Regions from separate parts of the Homo sapiens genome. Here region 1 is linked to region 2. Evidence: promoter capture Hi-C in 16 types of primary human blood cells and fetal thymus (Javierre and others, 2016). All regions are on one chromosome and are shown on one strand. Each heading gives the region's core, a stretch centred on a gene start or on the middle of the fragment in contact. The rest is flanking DNA. Distances are from core to core; before and after follow the strand shown.

Region 1 (2,700 bases), core at 164-2,663, 280 kb after region 2:
TTTTAGTAGAGACGGGGTTTCACCATGTTGGTCAGGCTGGTCTCAAACTCAGGTGATCTGCCCACCTCGGCCTCCCAAAGTGCTGGGATTACAGGCGTGAGCCACCGTGCCCAGCCCCCCAATTTTTTTTTTTAATTAGCAGGGCGTGGTGGCGCGCACTCGTAGTCCCAGCTCTTTGGGAGGCTGAGGTGGGAGGATCACTTGACCCCAGGGAGGTTGAGGCTGCAGTGAGCAATTATTGCACCACTACACTCCAGCCTGGACGACAGAGAGAGACCCTGTCTCTATAATAAAATAAAAACAGTCTAGGACTCTGAGAGGCATGGAATTAGAAAGAGTCTCTGTGTCAGAAGACACCATTTTGAGTCTCAGCTGTCACTACTAGTGACCTTACCCAAGTTAGTAAACCTAACTCTCAGATTCTCCATCTGTAAAATTTGATCCATTTATTAGAACATTATTTTTAACCTAGGGTGATCCCGGGCCCAGGTTCTGGTGGGCTGCCGCATACATTGGCTGGGTGGCTCTGGTAGGTCACGCCCTGGCCGCTTCGCCATCGAGGGGAGGGTGAGGACAGTCTCCGAGGCGGCGCTGCCGAACCTCCCGGTGACCTGGAGGCCGCGGAGCCCGCAGGGACCCATGGCCCCCGAACCTGGGGCAAGAAGGGCGGGCGCGCGCGGGGCGGGTCACGTGACAGCTCCAGGCCCACGCGGGGCCGGGGCAAGGGCGGGGCCTGGCGCGCGCGGCCCTGCGGGTGACAGGCAGGCGGGAAGGGGCGGGGCCTCGGGCGGGGCCGCCGTGGGGAGGAGGGCGGTGGGAGGGGAGGAGTGGAGATGGCGGCGGCGGCGGCTCAGGGGGGCGGGGGCGGGGAGCCCCGTAGAACCGAGGGGGTCGGCCCGGGGGTCCCGGGGGAGGTGGAGATGGTGAAGGGGCAGCCGTTCGACGTGGGCCCGCGCTACACGCAGTTGCAGTACATCGGCGAGGGCGCGTACGGCATGGTCAGGTGAGGGGGCGTTCCGGGGGAGGGGGTGCCCTCAGGGGAGGGGGCTTCGCGGGAGAGGAGGAGGAGGCGCCGAGCGCTTTCCGGGACGTGGAGACGCGGAGCGTCCCGAGGAGGCAGGAGACTCGGGATGATCGGGAGCGTCCCAGGGAGGGGGCCCCTGAGTGCTTTCTGGGGGAGGGGGCGCTGCCTACGTCCTCAGGGGAGCAGGCTTGGAGGCTTTGAGTCCACCCTTCTGTAATGATGGGAGGGGCATCCGAGTGCATGTGGGGGCCCGCGGGGACCCTAGTGACACGGGGCGAGGCCCAGAGGATGAGTACTCTCGGGGAGGCGACATCCTTAGTGAAGAGGCAGTGGAGGGCCCGTTTTGGGGGAAAGGGTGTCTTGGATTCCCCCTGTGAGGCAGTGCCAGGGAGCCTGGGGGAGAAGAGCCGAGATCAGGGTGGGGCAGGGCTTTGGCCCCACCACCCCAGGGGCCCAGAGAGAGATGAGGCGGCCAGGAGTGCCACCTGCATGTTTTGGGAGGGGTCTGTGAGTGCCCCCGGCCCCACCGTGTGCTCTGGGCCTCTATCCCTCTGGGACAGCCCCGCTGCCCGGATCCCTCACCCTGGGACCCTCCCCTGCCCTGTCCATTCTCTCCTGCCCCTCCCCTGGCTGCCACCTTCCCAGTATTTGCCCCATGGTGTGTCCCCAGCATCTGCACCCCCGGACCTGTCTTGGGTTAAGGAGCCTTTCCTGGGAATGGGGGCGAAGGGTTCAGGGCCAGTAGAATGGAAGGGGATTGAGGAGAGGGGAAGTCAGTGAGCGGTCAGTCTCTTCCTCTGTTTGTAAAGTCACCGAAGGGCCGCCTGGCTGGTCCCCAGCTTTCTCTCTGGAGATCCCAGGCCTCCACAGCAGGAAGGAACCAGCATTGTTTATGATTTGACCAGAGCCAGCTCCTGCTCTCTCCCCTCCCTGCCAAGGCCTGGGTGGGGCCACCAGGCCCGGACTCCCCCTTTGTAAGGCCACAGCAGCAGCCTCTCTCCGGTCCCCTCAGCTCGGCCTATGACCACGTGCGCAAGACTCGCGTGGCCATCAAGAAGATCAGCCCCTTCGAACATCAGACCTACTGCCAGCGCACGCTCCGGGAGATCCAGATCCTGCTGCGCTTCCGCCATGAGAATGTCATCGGCATCCGAGACATTCTGCGGGCGTCCACCCTGGAAGCCATGAGAGATGTGTATCCTTCACCTTGGCCAGTCGGCTGGTCAGGCACGGCCTCGCAGCTGGGCTGGGGACCCGTTGCTTGGTTTCTGTTTCCATCTTACCCACCACCCTCCAAAACAAACCCAGTAAAATAAACTTTCCTGCAGAGGGGAAGCCACAGTGTAACAGGACTTGGAGACCTCTGATGAACCCAGGCCTGCAGCGGCCCAGGCAGTATGGCCTCGAGCAAGTGGGTTCTCTGCTCTGTGCCCCAGGGGGAAGGGCTAGGCAGGATGGTCTCTATGGGAGTGGTGTCTTCTGACGTCGGCAGTTCTGAGACATGACCTGGCCTCTGCCCACAGTCACTTCTTGCTAAGGAATGGATGATTCTTTCCTCTCTTTCCTCCTTGCCCAGACCGGAAGGGAGACAGGGAGAAAGAAAACTGTCAGCTGGGCGTGGTGGCTCACGCCTGTAATCCCAGCACTTTGGGAGGCTGAGGTGGGAGATTACCTGA
Region 2 (2,700 bases), core at 178-2,677:
ACTGCACTCCAGCCTGGGCAACAGAGCGAAACTCTGTCTCAAAACAAAACAAAAAAAAATTAGCCAGGTGTAGTGGTGCATGCCTGTAGTCCCAGCTACTTGGGAGGCTGAGGTGGGAGGATCACCTGAGCCCAGGGAAGTCAAGGCTGCAGTGAGCTGTACTGCACTACAGCTTGGGTGACTGAATGAGACCCTGTCTCAAACAATAACAACAGTAATAATAAAAGAGCCATTTCCTCTGACTGGGTCCATCACCCCACTTCTGACCCCAGACTCCTACTAGTCTCACATAAGCCATCCTTTTACTTTGAGACCTGTGGCCAGTTACCAAACTGCCCTGGGCCTCAGTCTCCTCATCTGTAAAATGGAATAAATGCTACCGACATCATAGAATCGAGGTGCTTAGAACAGTGCCTGGCACATAGAAAATGCTAGGCAAGGGTTAGCTATTGTTACTGTTGCTGTTGAACTAACCTGACCTTTCCCCAACCTCTAAATCTGAGTTAAGTTCCCACTTCTAGGCTTCATCATCCCCCTGTACCTGCAGCCATCACACGGGATTCTAACTGTGTGGTTACCCTTCAGTCTAACATCAAGCTCCATGGGGGATCCAAGGACGGAGTTTAATCTCCTGCACCCAGCAGGAAGCCTGGGACAGTAGGCGTGACTTTTGTATGATGGAAGCCCAGGCAGTAGGGCAGAAGGATGGGCCAATCCTGAGGTTTTAGATCCGAGATTCTGGGAAAAGTAGGGGCAAGATCCCTGGCTTCTATCTGAGGGAGGCTGGGCCTGGACCAGGTTTGGGGACAGTGTGCCCCAGGGTGTGTGTGACACATACCTCCTTGTTGTCCATGGGGATCTTGAGTTTCACCACCTCATACTTCTCCTCACCCTCATCCTCCTCACCCTTCACCAGCAGCACCATCTCCTCCTGCATCTCTTCCTCCTCCTCTTCCTCTGCCTGCTGTTCGCCAGGCATCTTGGTGTCCTGAGGCGGGGAGCTGGATCAGAAGCTCAGGACCCGCCCCCCCCCACCCCCCCCCCCGCCCACCGTGGCCCTGGCCCAGCAAGGCAGTGCAGCCGTGGCTTCTCCCGCCCTGCCCTGGTCTCCGAATCTGGTCCTCTCCCGTCCACCCCAGCCCGGCCCCACGCTCTGGCACAGCCCCGGGACCAGCTCCGAGGGCTCGCGTTCACCCCACTCATCCCAGCATTCAAGGCCTTGAACAGTTCGAATCTCCAGCCCCCGCAAGTCGCCACCATCCTTGCGCTGAGTCACTCCCCAGGGCCCGGGTCGGCGACCTGGAGCTCTGGGGCACGGGCTGGAGGCGGGATCGGGGCGGAAACCCCGGGGAGGGGGTGCGCACTCACCAGCCGAAGGTTCGGCACTCGCGGTGCCCCAGGCCTGGGCGCCGGGCGGCTGGGCACTCAGCGAGGCCGCGGCTCCGGGGGCGGGGAGGGGGCGGGACCGCAGGGACGGCCGGTCATTGGTCCGAACATATAGCCCCACCCCCTGGGGCGGAGCCCGAAGGACCCAGGCGTCCGGCCCAAACGGCTCGGAGAGGGCGGCGAGCTCAGACTTGGCGTCCTCCGCAGTCCCCCGACTCCCAAGCACCTGGAGCCGCCCCAGCCCGGCGTTCAAGGTCCTTGCCGCCGAGTTCCAACCTAACCTCGCGGCCCGTCTCCTGGGGCCGGCTTGGAGGTCTCCGCTGCGCCCAGTGCCTCTGCTCCGCCCGAAATAGGCCACGTGCGCTCCCGCCCCGGCCTGGGCCTCTCCCTGGCGCCCCGCCTGGAGGGCGGACCCTGTTGCCTCCTCACTTCTTCCATTCCCTCTTTATCTCCTCTGCCGTCTTTTCTCCATCTTTCTCGGCTTCGCCTATTCCGCTGGCCTCTGGGATATCCTTGAATACATCCTAACCAATTCAACATCCACCCAAGCTACCGCTGTCGCGTCATGCGTGGGGTGCTTACCATGCGCCAGCGCTGTTCAGCGTCTTACATACCTGGTCTCATTTGATCCGCATAACGATGGGTCCTGATCCATTTTACAGATGAGCTCACTGAAGTTCAGGGAGGTAAACTGATTTGCCTAAGTTACACGATAAGGATGTCATAGCATCCCTGACAATCAGTAGCCTAGGTGAACAACAGCCCAAAGCTAAATCCAGTCCACAGGGGTACCTTGTTTGGCCCTTAGGGTATTTTTACTTTTAAAAAATCTTTTCGGACGGGCACGGCGGCTCACGCCTGTAATCCCAGCACTTTAGGAGGCCGAGGCGGGCGGATCACGAGGTCAGGAGATAGAGACCATCCTGGCTAACACGGTGAAACCCCGACTCTACTAAACAAAATACAAAAAATTAGCTGGGCGTGGTGGCGGGCACCTGTAGTGCCAGCTACTCGGGAGGCTGAGACAGGAGAATGGCGTGAACCCGGGAGGCGAGCTTGCAGTTAGCCGAGATCGCGCCACTGCGCTCCAGCCTGGGCGACAGAGCGAGACTCCGTCTCAAAAAAAAAAAAAAAAAAAAAAAAAAAAAATCGTTTCAAAGCCGGGCGCGGTGGCTCATGCCTGTAATCCCAGCACTTTGGGAGGCGGAGGCCGGTGGATCACTTGAGGTCAGGATTTCGAGACCAGCCTAACCAACATGGTGAAACCCCGTCTCTACTAAAAATACAAAAATTAGCCAAGCTTGGTGGTGCATG

Evidence for each region. The method cuts DNA at HindIII sites, captures the fragments that hold promoters and counts their contacts. A CHiCAGO score of 5 or more calls a contact.
Region 1: a contact is called between a fragment that was not itself captured here and the fragment with the promoter of ZNF771 in region 2, in 3 of 17 cell types (naive CD8 T cells, fetal thymus and total B cells). The highest score is 7.9, in naive CD8 T cells.

Annotation. Positions count from the first base shown.
Region 1 is chr16:30,121,343-30,124,042 of GRCh38, reverse strand. MAPK3 (mitogen-activated protein kinase 3) reads left to right here and starts at 823. Exons shown (of 9, transcript NM_002746.3): 1 at 823-1,003; 2 at 2,037-2,219. The coding sequence starts at 834. RefSeq lists a silencer at 462-831. The HindIII fragment of the contact is 5,672 bases long and covers 1-2,700 here.
Region 2 is chr16:30,406,333-30,409,032 of GRCh38, reverse strand. ZNF771 (zinc finger protein 771) reads right to left here and starts at 1,427. Exons shown (of 3, transcript NM_001142305.2): 1 at 1,369-1,427; 2 at 839-988. The coding sequence starts at 979. RefSeq lists silencers at 1,292-1,501, 1,524-1,703. The HindIII fragment of the contact is 8,204 bases long and covers 1-2,688 here.